2 separate regions of the Homo sapiens genome follow, and region 1 is linked to region 2. Evidence: promoter capture Hi-C in human tissues and cell types (Jung and others, 2019). All regions are on one chromosome and are shown on one strand. Each heading gives the region's core, a stretch centred on a gene start or on the middle of the fragment in contact. The rest is flanking DNA. Distances are from core to core; before and after follow the strand shown. Region 1 overlaps DISC1 (DISC1 scaffold protein). Region 2 holds the start of DISC1 (DISC1 scaffold protein).

Evidence for each region. Contacts are between HindIII fragments. The study calls those that stand out against the background at their distance.
Region 1: a contact is called between a fragment that was not itself captured here and the fragment with the promoter of DISC1 in region 2, in 2 of the 25 tissues and cell types used here (H1 embryonic stem cells and IMR-90 fibroblasts).

The regions. Positions count from the first base shown.
Region 1 is chr1:231,714,797-231,722,202 of GRCh38, reverse strand. All of the region lies in intron 3 of DISC1 (DISC1 scaffold protein), which reads right to left. The region is part of intron 7 of TSNAX-DISC1 (TSNAX-DISC1 readthrough (NMD candidate)); the gene reads right to left. Among named protein-coding and RNA genes, the nearest start is that of DISC1, 92 kb to the right of the region's middle. The HindIII fragment of the contact is 4,044 bases long and covers 201-4,244 here.
Region 2 is chr1:231,623,414-231,630,030 of GRCh38, reverse strand. It overlaps DISC1 (DISC1 scaffold protein), which reads right to left and starts at 3,241. Exons shown (of 13, transcript NM_018662.3): 1 at 3,097-3,241. The coding sequence starts at 3,163. All of the region lies in intron 5 of TSNAX-DISC1 (TSNAX-DISC1 readthrough (NMD candidate)), which reads right to left. RefSeq lists silencers at 1,522-1,722, 2,696-2,755, 3,086-3,345. The HindIII fragment of the contact is 12,044 bases long and covers 1-6,617 here.

The DNA of each region.
Region 1 (7,406 bases), core at 973-3,472, 93 kb before region 2:
GATACCATTTTTGAAAGTCCTTAAGGCAGTGCTTTTTTTTTTTTTTTTTTTGAGATGGAGTCTTGCTATGTCGCCAGGCTGGAGTGCAGTGGCGCGATCTTGGCTCACTGCAAGCTCCGCCTCCCAGGTTCATGCCATTCTCCTGCCTCAGCCTCCCGAGTAGCCGGGATTACAGGTGCCCGCCACCACACCCGGCTAATTTTTTGTATTTTTAGTAGAGATGGAGTTTCACCATGTTAGCCAGGATGGTCTCAATCTCCTGACCTCATGATCTGCCCGCCTCGACCTCCCAAAGTGCTGGGATTCCAGGCGTGAGCCACCGTGCCCAGCCAAGGCAGTGCTTTTCAAGAATTTTTGTTTACTTCTTGATTTTTTTTCATTGTTTGTTTTTCTTTTTCTTTTTTTTAGCAACAGAGCCCTTTTTGAGATGAAATCTTACTGGACTAATAACAGATGGAAACCAAAGTACTCTGGATGAAGCTTCCCTTTCAGCCTTCCCTAAGGCATCTCTGAGGCTCCTCAGAACACAATTTGAAAAGCACAGCCTTCTGGTGTTCTGAAGAGAATACATGGATCCAAAAAATGTTGAACAGCTGTAAATATCAGCAACCCCAGGTTGCCAAGTTTTTGTTGCTGCCCCAAGTCCATATGATATAAATGAACATTTCATTGTATAAGGTCTTTAAGAAAAATAAAAGATTTATATCTTTTGATACAGTTTTGATATATCTGATTTCATAAATATGCATCAAATATTAATCTCAGCCAGATTTACTTACTTGGAGCATGAAGCCAAATCCTCAACTGTGGTACTAAGGATTTTATTAGAATTCTAACTTTCCAGAGAGTATTTTTAAACATTTTCTTCTAATTTTTTCTCTCCTAAAAACTTTTTTTCTTTTTTTTTCTCATCTGTAGTGTGGAAAAGAATAAAAAGCAGATAACATTATCCACAATACTCCAACCAGGGACAGCCTGAATTAATATGTTGACATAGCTCCTTTCAATCAGCACAGTTTTTATATGTATTATTTCCTCTGTTTCTTTCATCAGCCCAGCAAGGTAGGTAGAGCTAATGTTATTGTACTCATTTGGCAGATGAGGACATCATTTCTCACATCAGGACAGACCTGGCTCTGGAAAAAAGCTGGGAAAAGTTCCAGAATGGCATGCCCATTTTCCATTGTCAATTTTCATGATCCGTATCCACAGTTGCTGTTCACCCCAAATGAAAATGTAACCCTTCCAGTGACTTCCTGCAGAGGTAAAGTAAATTACCTGTGGTTATTAATGCAGTCAATGTCAGAACTAGGTATGCAAAGTGAGATGACTGGTAGCAACTTCCTCCAACAAACCTGTAAACGAAACGACAACACGTTTCCTACCTGCTGCTCAGAACCACTTCTGCCCTGTGACTATCTGGGAGAAGGAACAAACTTAAGAACTTCACATTTTAGCCCTCATGCAGAAAGCCCCAAGGGAAAAAAATCACCCAGTGGTAGAAAACTAAAAGTAGTCAAGTTAGGGAACGGCAAAAATGAAGCATTAGAAAAGCTGAGAAGAGGCCGAGTGCAGCAGCTCACACCTGTAATCCCAGCACTTTGAGAGGCCGAAGTGGGAGGATCGCTTGAGGCCAGGCATTCAAGACCAGCCTGTGCAACATAGTGAGACCCCGTCTTTATAAAAAATTTTTAAAATTAGCCAAGTGTGGTGGCATGCACCTGTAATCCCAGCTTCTTGAGAGGCTGAGGCAGGAGGATCGCCTAAGCCCAGGAATTTGAGGCAGCAGTGAGCTATGATCATGCCACTGCACCCCAGCTGGACAACAAAGCGAGACCCTGTCTTAAAGAAAAAAAATTAAAAAGAGTAAAGAAGAAAACATCCTATGGTAAAAGCAAAGAGCAAAGAGGAGAGGAAGACAGCTTACAAAGACAGAAAAGTCAAAAGACTATAGTGGGGTACCTGCGAGTAACCAAGTCCTTGGCAATGAAAATTCATTATGAGCAAATCTCACCTCACAATAAACTCCTAGAGGAACTAATTACACTAAATGTTCTGGCCATGACTTAGGGAGTAGTCATCCCTAAGGCACCCTTGGGTATATGGAAGTTGCCACGCTCGGTAGCAAACAGGGGCTGCTTCAGTGTCTGTCTCCTGTCGGGTTAGTGTTCTATCAAGCCTGTCAATTGCAACTTATTTTGTGTTATGAGACAAGCTGGCACATTGTATAAAGGTCAAGTGGAAAACTGTCCCTTCTGCTACATCGCTGTCATCAGCTACTAAAGGTCATTCCACCCAATACATGGCTGTGACGGAAAATAACTTTGTTTGTCTACTGTGACATATGAAAAAGTCCTTCTGCTGTGAGCTTTTTGGTTTCTCTCTACTCTCAACAGGCATCAAATTAGGTGCGCTAAGGTTATCTAAGAAAATGATTATCTAAGAAAATAATCAGTTCGCAAATACATTTGAACAAAAAAACACAAAGAGATTAAAAAGCCTATCTCTAGCAGATCTAAAATACCTAAATATTTTACCAGTGAGTATAATTTAACAAACATTCATTCTGAATGATACATAACCCAAATATTTAGCATGCACCATCTCATTTAATTCTCCAAACAACCCTATTATCCCATTTTATAGATAGAAAAAATAAAGCTTAGAAAGAATAATTTGTCCAAGCTTATACAGCTAGCAAATGGCAGAATTGAACTTTGCAGTCAGGTTTTTAACAAGGTTGACCTGAAAAGCGCTAATGCTTTATAATTCTATTGTTAGTAGAATTATCAGCTATTAATAATGTAACAATGATAATAAGATGATAAGTGATAATAAGATGAATTCACTTGTTCATCCAACAACCACTTCTTGAGAGGCTACTTTGACCAAGCACTATGCTAAGTTCTGGGGATAAAGAGTAAAAATGAATAGGGTCTCTTTCTTTCCCTAGGAGGCTAACAGTTTAGCCAAGAGGACAGCCAATAGCTATGCTAAAACACAATATGTATGAGGATAGAGAATATACCAAGCACTCAAAAGAAGGGGCACTGAAACCAAGTCTTTTTTGTTTTTTTGGAGACAGGGTCTTGCTCTGTCACCCAGGCTGGAGTGCAGTGGTGTGATCATAGCTCACTGCAGCCTCGACCTCCTGGGCTTAAACAATCCTCCAGCCTCAGCCTCCCATGTAGCTGAGTCTATTGATGCACAGAACCATGTCTGGCTAAATTTTATAGACATGGGGTCCTGCTATTTGCCCAGGCTGGTCTACAACTCCTGGCCTCAAGTCCTTCCACCTCAGCCTTCTAAAAAGCTAGGATTGTGGCATGAGCCACACCATGACCAACCAGAAACCAAGTCTGGATGACCTAGTAGGAGAAGGAGGTGGTAAGTGCAGGCAGAGGTACTAAACAGTGGACAAGGCAGTATGCCTTCGGGAACTACCAAGGGACTAAAGAGAAAGTTGCAGCCAGGTGCGGTGGCTCATGCCTGTAATCTCAGCCCTTTGGGAGGCCGAGGCGGGCAGATGACCTGAGGTCAGGAGTTCGAGACCAGCCTGGCCAACATGGAGAAACCCCGTCTCTACTAAAAATAGAAAATTTGCCAGGTGTGGTGGCACATGCCTGTAATCCCAGCTACTCGGGAGGCTGAGGCAGGATAATCGCTTGAACCCGGGAGACGGAGTTTGTGGTGAGCCAAGATTGCACCATTGCACTCCAGCCTGGGCAACAAGAGCAAAACTGCAACTCAAAAAAAAAAAAAAAAAGAGAGAGAAAGTTGCTTGAAGTGGGGAAGGAATGGCAAGAAATGAAGTTAGAAAGCTAAGCAAGGGCCAGGGCAAGAAGCTGGTTATGGCAGGCCATATTTAACATTTGTCCTGATAGTGACATTAGTCACGCAGAGAGATGAAGTAGAAAAGCAATTGTAAATGAGTTTTAGAAAGAAGACTGGTTACAACATGAAGGATGATTGGAAAGGGATTGAAGGATGATCGAAGGATGCTTTGGAGGGGGATGAAAATAGAAACCAAGGACCCATTAAGAGGCGAGTGCGTGTGTCCAGACAACACTTACGAGATCAAAGGACAGAAGGAAGAGATACTTAAGAGATAAAATCGAAAAGGTGTAGTGGCTCATGTCCCGGGAGAGCTGAAAGTCCACAATGACCCACAGGCTTTTTTCTGCTTGACTTGCCATTCATTGTAATAGGGGATATGGCAAGAGGAGCTGGGCTGAGATATAACAAAGATCAGGAACTTCTAGAGGGATGGTGGGAAAAAGATAGTCTTTAGATCTTAGTTTGGACATTCTATACAATAGTATTGGAAAATAAAATGGTGCCATGAATTCAAGTCTTTTTTTTATTAATGAAGAGATTTGACTGTCAAGAAACAAATGGACAATGAAAGCAATTCTCGCACTATGACAAGCAGGCAAATGAAGTAAGGAGGTTGTGGAATTGTCTGATGCGTTCATACAACACATAGAATTATTGAATGGTGCTCAGTCTATGGGACCTGGAGACTTTTGGCAGTGAGAAGATTGCTGGAGTGATCTCTCTTCTTCACTGCTGCTTATTTTCCAACTCCACTCAGTCCCTACTCTGAATACATGACCCTTGCCACCTTGACCCACTTGATCTACCTTTCCTCATCAACAAGCAAAACTGAAATGGCCAATGCAGGACCCCACGCCTATGGCTCAGTGAGACAGAGTCAGCAGAGGGAGGCGGGCCTTGGCTTTTCTGACCAGTTCAAACTGTAGCAAGGCTCCAGACTCCAGATCATACACAATCAGCCTAGAGACCCCCAGCTACCACTACCAACACCAAAGCAGAAAAGACCAATCCCTCCTATAACTTTCTACCCACTCGTGAGATGCCCTTTGGTTCTGCCAAGGGCCTGCCTTCCTCCAACTGAAGACCTTGTTAACCTTCAAATATTTATATACCATAAAGGTTTTTATTTCCGAGACTTGCAGGAAACTTATTCACATTTCCCTAGAGAACTTTTTTTTAATGGGCCACAATTCATCTCCCAAAGACAGGACCTCTAGAGCAGCTGATGCATTCACACCATGCTTTGAAGCCCTCATTGACTTAGGAATAGGAGCTGGGCCAAGCAACAGGATGAGAGAACAGCCAAACACAAACTGCAGAGCTTGCTAAATCTGGAAGGAACCGCCACTCAAGATTTTCTTCTGGCATGCCTCTCTGCCATCCAGAACGTGTTGGTAGTGGATTTGATATTGATTTTTTATTAGACAGGATGCAAGATTTAATTAAGTGCCCAGACACTTTATAAAAACAAATTAGCTGTCCAGTCCATCACCCAGAGCAAGGAATTCCACGAAGGAGCACAGGCGCCATCTCGTTGCCATTATGCAAAGGAAATGGACTCCATGTTTGTAAATGACCATTTTAAATGGAAAGATTAAATGGTTACCTGAGAATTACACCTTAGCCTTCTCTGCCCATGAGGGTGAAGGCCACAAAACAGTAGAGACCCACAGAAACATAATCAGAAGAGAGAGAGCTTTCAACCTCTCTTTCTTCAGTCTTGTCTTTAGTATTCCATGTATGTCCCATTTTCCTCCTTCCCTTTCCATTTTTTTTCCTTCCACTCTTAAAAGCAGGATTGCCAGTTCTTTCAAAGCCCAAGCAGGGTTTCAATTTCATTTTCTCAATGTCATCCAATGTCATGCAACAAAGCATCAGGCAGAAAACGAGAGATTCTAGGTCATGAAATTTAGACTGCAGATAAAAAAAATAGTTTGCCATACGACAATGTGAAGAGTAGTCAAGCTTTAAATGCTTCTTTATAATTTGCATGTTTTAATATATATTGCTTTACTTCATTTCCAATTTTTTTTTTTTTTTTTTTTTTTTGCAGATTGAAAGAAATCAGGCTATGTGCAAATAAGCTTCTTATTGCCAAACAGAAAAGAAGCCAAATCATTGCATCTTATTTTCTGCACGCTATTGGCACTAACTGCTGGCAGGGAGATTTTTCAGAAGCATCCACACTTTACACAGTGTTTTCTAACATGTAGCACCCGGGGGTAGCGGGTAAGTGGTAGGTAGAAAAAGAAAAGGCAGCAAATAATTCTTCAATACCTCCAGGCACTGTGCAGGCATCTCACACACATCATTATCACATTTAACCTTCCACCCACACAGCAGGATAGGTATTATTATGCCTAGTTTATCCAGGAACAAGCCAGTGCTCAAGGACAGAAGACAAAACAAAAGTGTGCTGCGTGGCCACACTGACATTCTGGTCTCCTCACCCAGTCCCCCTCCATTCCCGGCTGAGCTGTCCTCATCCAGAGGTACAGAGACAGTTACTAAACATTTCACGGCTCTTTGTTTGGAAACTATACCTCAACTAACAATATACTAAAATTTAAAACTAAATATGTAAATAAATGCATTAAATTTTTCACAGCTCATGAAGGTGCTTTTAGTACTGACTATCCCAGGCTGATTAAGAGTTGATTATTTCTAAATGGCACTTCATGTAGACATAGAAGAGTTAATTCTGCCAACTGAATTCATCAATCAGTCAATTCAGTGAGAAAATGTGGTCCAATCAGTCCCAGAGTATATATATGTGATAACCTATTGATGGGTTGAACTTTTCCTGAGCCCAGCACATAAAGCTCCCGGAAAAACAGCCACAGTCAGAGACAATCAAAGGTTACTTTGGTCCCAGTAAAGATCAGACAAAAGTCTCTGGAAAATCTGTTGCAAGAGGCACCTTCAAGCTAACATGTAAGACCAGGTTTTGGGATGGAAATGACTGTATTGACCAAATGAATGAACTCTGTAAGGAGTGTTTTCATTTTAATCTTCTTTATGCATTTTTAACATCCCTCATTTTTAAATTCATATGCTGCTCTCAATCATTCCTAATTGCTTCGTGTGTGCATGTTTCACTAGGCAATAAGCATACTAGCTACTATTTTTATCTGCACTGCACCAGTTCCCCCATCTTCTCCTAACAGATGTACCCACCTCATCACAGAGACAGACAGGTAGCCAGGCTTGGCTAATTACAGTACCTCATCCCTTTGGTTATGGTCATTGGTCCAAGGAGTCAGCACCTAACCCAATCCTTTCCTGAAGGTTTTCATACTGGATCCAAGAGGGGAAGTCTCTTTTTCTTCTCTAGTCGTGTGTTGTTAATTCAAAAGTCTTCAATTGCCACATGGAATAAAGTGGTGTGATCATTTTAAAATATGCCCACAAGTTCTTTGACATTCTTCCATCAAAAAAATGGTCTAATTCTTCTCCCCTTGAAGATGGGACAACTTTGATGACTTGTTTCAAATGAATCCATGTGGTGGAAGTAACAACATAATTTCTTAAGATAGATTCATAAAAGATGATAGAGCTTCCTCCAGCAT
Region 2 (6,617 bases), core at 1,992-4,491:
GAACCCAGGAGGCAGAGGTTGCAGTGAGCCGAGATCGTGCCACTGCACTCCAGCCTGGCGACAGAACGAGACTCCGTCTCAAAAAATATATATATTGTTTAAAGGTCACCATTGTACCCTCTCTTTGCTCTGAAGGTCCTGCATCAAACTTTAACCAAAACCACAATAAAATTCAAATATCAACAATTTAGTCTCTAATCCTTCTCCAATCAAAATTTTTAGATTTTAAAAAAAGAAAAAGTTTTAATGAGCATAATAAATTGGCTTTGTTCTACATTAATGTCATAATGTTTGAGCAATTAGCAAGTACTATTTTTGTCATTTAACAAAAAACAATAATAGTTTGCCTCTCACTTTTGGATGGATGCATGCAGCATAGAAATGGGTTACAAGGACAGAGACACCAAGCTATTTGTCTACCTTGGTGAGATTACAGTATTTTTTAGTGTTCACTTACTTGTTTGTAGCTTTCTGTGCTTCCTGTAATGAGCATGCATTGCTTTTGGAAAAACAAAAACCAATAAGATAAACTTAATTTAGGAAACAAATAAACTAGGAATTGTTTCTGCAGCACAGAAACAGAGCATTCACGCTCCTCTCGGAAGTTTCTGCTTTCTTCTGGAGGCATCTTGGGTGAGCAATGAACTTCCTGCAGAAAAGTCCCGGGGCCCAGCCCTGCAAAGTAACCATGACACCCAACGCCTCGATTTCCGGTTACACCTCATGTGCTATCCTAAGGGTTCTGGCAAATGAGTGTTGAAACAAAACAAAACAATCCAGATACCACTTAGAGATTTGTGATGAGATCTTGCAACCTGTTCTTTCAATGTTTTAATAACTTTTCTGCAAATTGTCATCATTTGTTTTACAAGAAGATAGTTTAAAGTATATTTTATAAAATAAGTCTGAGGGAAATTAAAATTATGCCAAAGCCTCTTTTGCCAGGATTAACAGTTCACTCTTACATTTTGGGTCTATAGATATGCAGGATGGAGGTTGGGCCTGGTGGCTCATGCCTGTAATCCTAGCGCTTTGGGAGGCCAAAGTGGGAGGAATGATTGAAGCCAGGAGGTCGAGACCAGCCTGAGCAACATAGCAAGACTCCAACTCTAAAAAAAAAAATTAGCTGGGCATGGTGGCATGCGCCTGTAATCCCAACTACTCAAAAAGCTGGAACAGGAGGATCTCTTGAGCCCAGGAGTTCAAGGCTACAGTGAGCCATGATTGTGCCACTGCACTCCATCCTGGGTGACAGAGCAAGACTCTGTCTCCTAAAGAAAAAAAAATTACCTAAATTCTAATATAGGTCTGTTCTGAATCACAGCTCCACTCTATAAGTTCAGTTTGGCAAGCGGCCAAGAACACAGTTGTGAGTGGCACCCACACCAGGGTTCTAATCCTGGCTTTACACTTAAGAGCTCTGTGAGCTTGGGAACCAAGCAGGGTGACCCTGAACCTCAGCTTTGTCATAGGGAAATGAGGACTGTAATCCCAGTCCCATAAAGATGCAGGGAGGATTTCATCAAAGGAATTCATAATAAAATGTCTGGCACATTGTAAGTTCTAAAAACCTGCAGATGTTACCATTCCCTCCTAGTACTATCATGTCTTATATGTGCATAGTGACTCATACTCCACAAGGTGCTTTCAGATCTTTTGCCTCATTTAATCCTCAGGCAATGCGATCAGTACAAAAGGCAGTAATTACTACCCCCATTTTTCTTTTATCTTTTTTGTAAACAGATGAGAAAACAGGCTCAAAGTCAAAGAGCCCGAAAAGCGGGTATCTTGTCCACGGTTCTTTTTGCTCTGTGGCACAGAACTGAACCTCAGAGGACTTCATGTACCATGCCGAGCACAGGAGAACTACATGTGTTTTTAAATGCCCTACTATTCCTGCATTAATCAAATCAAACTGGTATTCTCACATTACTCCCAATTATTTAGATTTTGCCTAGGAAAAATAGCAACTAAGGTTTTTTGAGAGTGCACTGGGTATTTCAGGCATTGGGCGAGGTGCTTCACTTCCACCATCACAGTTAAACCGCATAACAACCCTATGAAGCAGGTACTGTCATAGTCTCCTGCATGTCCAGGATTGACATGCAGGCAGACTGTCTCCAAACCCCAGTTCCTATGGTCCTAGTGCTGTCCAATTCAAATTTGTCCAGTTGATGATAACACTTTGCAAATTGATTTCCCATACAACAAACCTAACGACACATGGAGGCCAGGCTATGAGTGTTCTCCTTTACATTTCAGGAGACTGAGGCTCTGAGAGGTTAAGCGACTGACCCAGCCCTGTCCTCACCCAGCAAGAACACAAGGCAGCACTCCCTAACTCCAAATCTCACTGTCTTTGGAAAACCTCACATTTTAAGAGTGAGAAGGTAGAAGTCCTGTCATTGTTGAAAAACAACCATCCACAATCATCACTAAGAGTTGACAGCGAGACCCGCGCTCCAGGCGGTGGAAACCGAGCAGTCTCCGGCTTGGGCCATCCCCGTTACTGTAGCCAAGTAGGAAGTGGGCGGTGACACTGATTTCAGAGCAGCCCCTAGGGAAGGCACAGGCACCAGTTCCTGGTCCCGCTCCCAGCCTCCTCCCTCCAGGTCCCCGAAGGGGTGGAACCCGAGATCCAGCTGGGTCTTGGGGTTAAGGCGGGCGGGACGTCCCCTGTCCCGAGGGGGCGCAGGCTGGGGCGCACCGCAACGAGAGTGCAGGCGGCGCAGGTGTCCCAGGACGGGGACGGATCCAAACCCCAAGCACGCCTCTGCAACCTTTCCCGGTCACCTGGACACGCAGCGGGGGCGCGGGTCAGACTCCTACAGTTTCGCAAACTGCGGGTCCCGGGGATCGCTGCACAGTCCTGGGTCAGGGACCTGGCCCGGCTCGGCGCTGGTGCCGGGCTGGCAGCCCAAGACTCGCTCTTCTCTCAACCTCGCACGCCTCGCGTCCTGCCTCAGTTTCCCTCACCTCGAAAGGGGTTGTTAACAGAGGCACGCCCTGACCTACGCGACTTCCTGGGGGCCAGAGCGCGCCCTCCTTGCCAGGACCCCCCCAGGACGTGCTAGGACTCTGTGGCAGCTCCCCTACCTGCGCGGTGGCTCACGCCGCCGCCGCCGGCGGCGGCTGGGGCGCCCTGAGGACCCCCGCCTGGCATGCGCCCCGCTGCCAGCTCCTCCCGCTCCGCCTGGGCTGCCTCCTGCTCCTTCCCCGAGGCCAGAGGCGGGGGGAAGGGAGCAGCGCGCTGGACGGGAAGTGGGGAGGGGGCTGGCGACGAAGGGGGCGGCTCCTTTCTTCTCCTCAGCGAGTCCGCTGTTTCCTTTCCAGCATTGGCCCCTGACGCGCGCGCGCGCGCGCACACACACACACACAGACATACACACACACGCTGCTGGAGCGGGCGGGGCCAGCGGCCCTCACAGCCTGTCTCCGGGATCTCAGGACCTCAGAAAGTTTGCTTTCACTCTGACTCATTTCTGGAAGAAACAAGAGGGGAAGTGCAGGAAGCCTCCAGGATGGGGTACAGGAGGGCGCCTTCCAGACGCATGATTTAAGAAGTGACCACACAGTGATGGAGAAGATGGAGGGATGTGAGGGGCTCATTTATACAAAGTGGGGGCGGGGGGGAGGAGTGGGGATAACTGATGACCCTGGAAAGAGATGAGTGGGAGCAGATGTTTAGAAATGAGATAGGATTCCAACTTCTAGCATCTTCCAGCAGCTCCGGGCTGGTTCCAGGACACAGAAGTCCATGCAAGCTCCTAGGCAACTGACTCCCCCCTTCACCCCTTCTCTTTGGTTCATTCAAGGAAGCTACTGGAGCACCCCCTAGGTAGCACCTGCTATAGGACAATGGGTACAAGGAAGGGCTACACATGAGCTCTTTGCCCTTAAGCAGCTCACCTCCAGGCTAGAAGGAGAGCACGTGCATAGAAAACGAAATCACAACATGAGATAGAATGTGCCATGTGCCAGAGGCTTGGCACAAAACCTCTTGCAATGGTTCAGGGATAGGAGGGAGAACTGTGAAGAAGAAGGGTTGGGGAGACGTTCTGCAGGAATGGGAAGGATCTCCTTAGAACGAGAGGAGTTAGAACTAGAGGAAGGCTGAGGTCCTTCAAAAGCTGAAGATCTTAAGACTGAAAGCACACAGTTGTACTTAAAATCAGTGTGTTTGCCCGGCATGGTAGTGCACTCCTGTAGTCCCAGCTACTCGGCAGGCTTAGGTGGGAGGATTGCTTGAGTCCAGGAGTTCAAGGCTTCAGTGAGCTATGATGGGGCCACTGCACTCCAGCCCAGGTGACAGAGAGAGACCCCCCACACCCCCACCACATCTCTAAAAATAAATAAATGTATGAATATCTAAGGCCAGGCACTTTGGGAGGCCAAGGTGGAAGTTCACTTGAGTCCAGAAGTTTGAGATCAGCCTGGGCAACATAATAAGAACCTCTTTTTTTTTTTTAACTTTTAAGTTCAGTTTGTTACATAGGTAAACTTGTGTCATGGGTGTTTGTTGTACAGAGTATTTTGTCACCCAGGTATTAAGCCTAGTGCTCATTAGTTGTTTTTCTTGATCCTCGCCCTTCTCCTACCCTCCGCCCTCCAAAAGGCACCAGTGTGTGCTGTTCCCCTCTATGCGTCCATGTGTTCTCATCATTTATCTCCCACTTATAAGTGAGAACATGCAGTGTTTGGTTTTCTGTTCTTGTGTTAGTTTGCTAAGAATAATGGCCTCCAGCTCCATCCATGTCCCTGCAAAAGACATGATCTCATTCTTTTTTATGGCTGCATAGTATTCTATGGTATATATGTACCATATTTTTTTATCCAGCCTATCATTGATGGGCATTTAGATTGATTCCATATATTTGCCGTTGTGAATAGTGCTGCAGTGAACATGTGTGTGCATGTGTCTTTATAATAGAATTATTTATATTCCTTTGGGTGTATACCCAGTCATACGATTGTTGGGTCAAACAATATTTCTGTCTTTGGGTCTTTGAGGAATCACCACACTGTCTTCCACAATAGCTGAACTAATTTACACTCCCACCAACAGTGTAAAAGTGTTCCTTTTTCTCCACAACTTCTCCAGCATCTGTTATTTTTTGACTTTTTAGTAATACCCATTCTGACCGGTGTTAGGTGGTATTTCATTGTGGTTTTGATTTGCATTTATCTGATAATCAGTGATGTTGAGCTTTTTTTATATGAATGTTGTCCACATATATGTCTTCTTTTGAAAAGTGTCTGTTCATGTCCCTTGCTCACTTTTTAATGGGGTTGTTTGGTTTTTTCTTGTAAATATAAGTTCCTTATAAGATGCTGGATATTAGATCTTTGTTAGATCACAGTTTGCAAAATTGTTTTCCCATTCTGTAGGTTGTCTGTTTACTCTGTTGATAGTTTCTTTTGCTGTTCAGAAGCTCTTTAGTTTAATTAGATCCCAGTTGTCAATTTTTGCTTTTGGCATCTTTGTCGTGAAATCTTTGCCCATGCCTATGTCCTGAATGGTATTGCCTAGGTTGTCTTGCAGGGATTTTATAGTTTTGGGTTTTACAATTAAGTCTTTAATACATCTTTAGTTAACTTTGTATAAACTGTAAGGTAGAGGTCCAGTTTCAATCTTCTGCATATGACTAGCCAGTTATCCCATCACCATTTAGGAAATTCTTTACCCATTGCTTGTCAAAACCCTTTCTATAAAGAAAAAAAAAATTAATTAGCCAGCACAGTGGCCTGTACCTGTAGTCCCAGCTACTTGGGAGGCTGAAGCAGGAGGATCACTCTAGCTCAGGAGGTCGAGGCTGCACTGAGCAGTGATTGCACCACTTCCCTCCAGCCTAATAGAGTGAGACCAGGCTAATAGAGTGAGACCCTGCCTAAAGAGAGAGAGAAACAGAGAGAGAGAAGCTTCAAATCCTGCCTGAATTTTTAGCCTAGCAGCCTGCCCTTCAAATTTCAAACTTGCTAGACCTTAAAATCAAGTGAGCCAATTCCTTAAAATAAATCTTTCTCTTCTTTCTCTCTTTTGCCTCTTTCTCTATCTTTTTCTTCTCTCTATCTCTTTCTCCTCTCTTTATCTCTCTCCGTTTCTCTCTTTCTCCTCTCTCTCTCTTTCTCTTCTGTCTTCTCTATCTATCTGTCTATCTATCTATCTGTCTTCCTGTCCTCCTCCCACTTGCTCACTCCTTTCTTTGGGTCCCCTTCATTAGTTTCTCCCCTTCTCCCCACCCCTTATCTTGGATCTCCCCAGAATTTAATCCATGGCTTGCTTCTCTTCTTGAGCATCCCTCATACTTGACCTTACTCATCCCTCTCATCCACTTCCAGGGTTTCAACCACCCGATGCAACCTCAATCAGAATCCCTGACTGCAACCTCTCTCCCAAACTCCAGATTCATATTTCCAACTTACAGATTCTGCTGGGTTCTCAAAGTTAATATCACCAAAATTATTCTCATAGTCCTCTCTAGCACATTCCCAAAACTGCTGCCCTTCCTGTATTAAATTTTCTTCAAGATAGCTTTACTCTCTTCTTCTCCTCCCAGCCAATCCTACATCCCCGCTCACCTTCGCCCTTTCATTCAGCCATTGGATCCTGTCCTTTC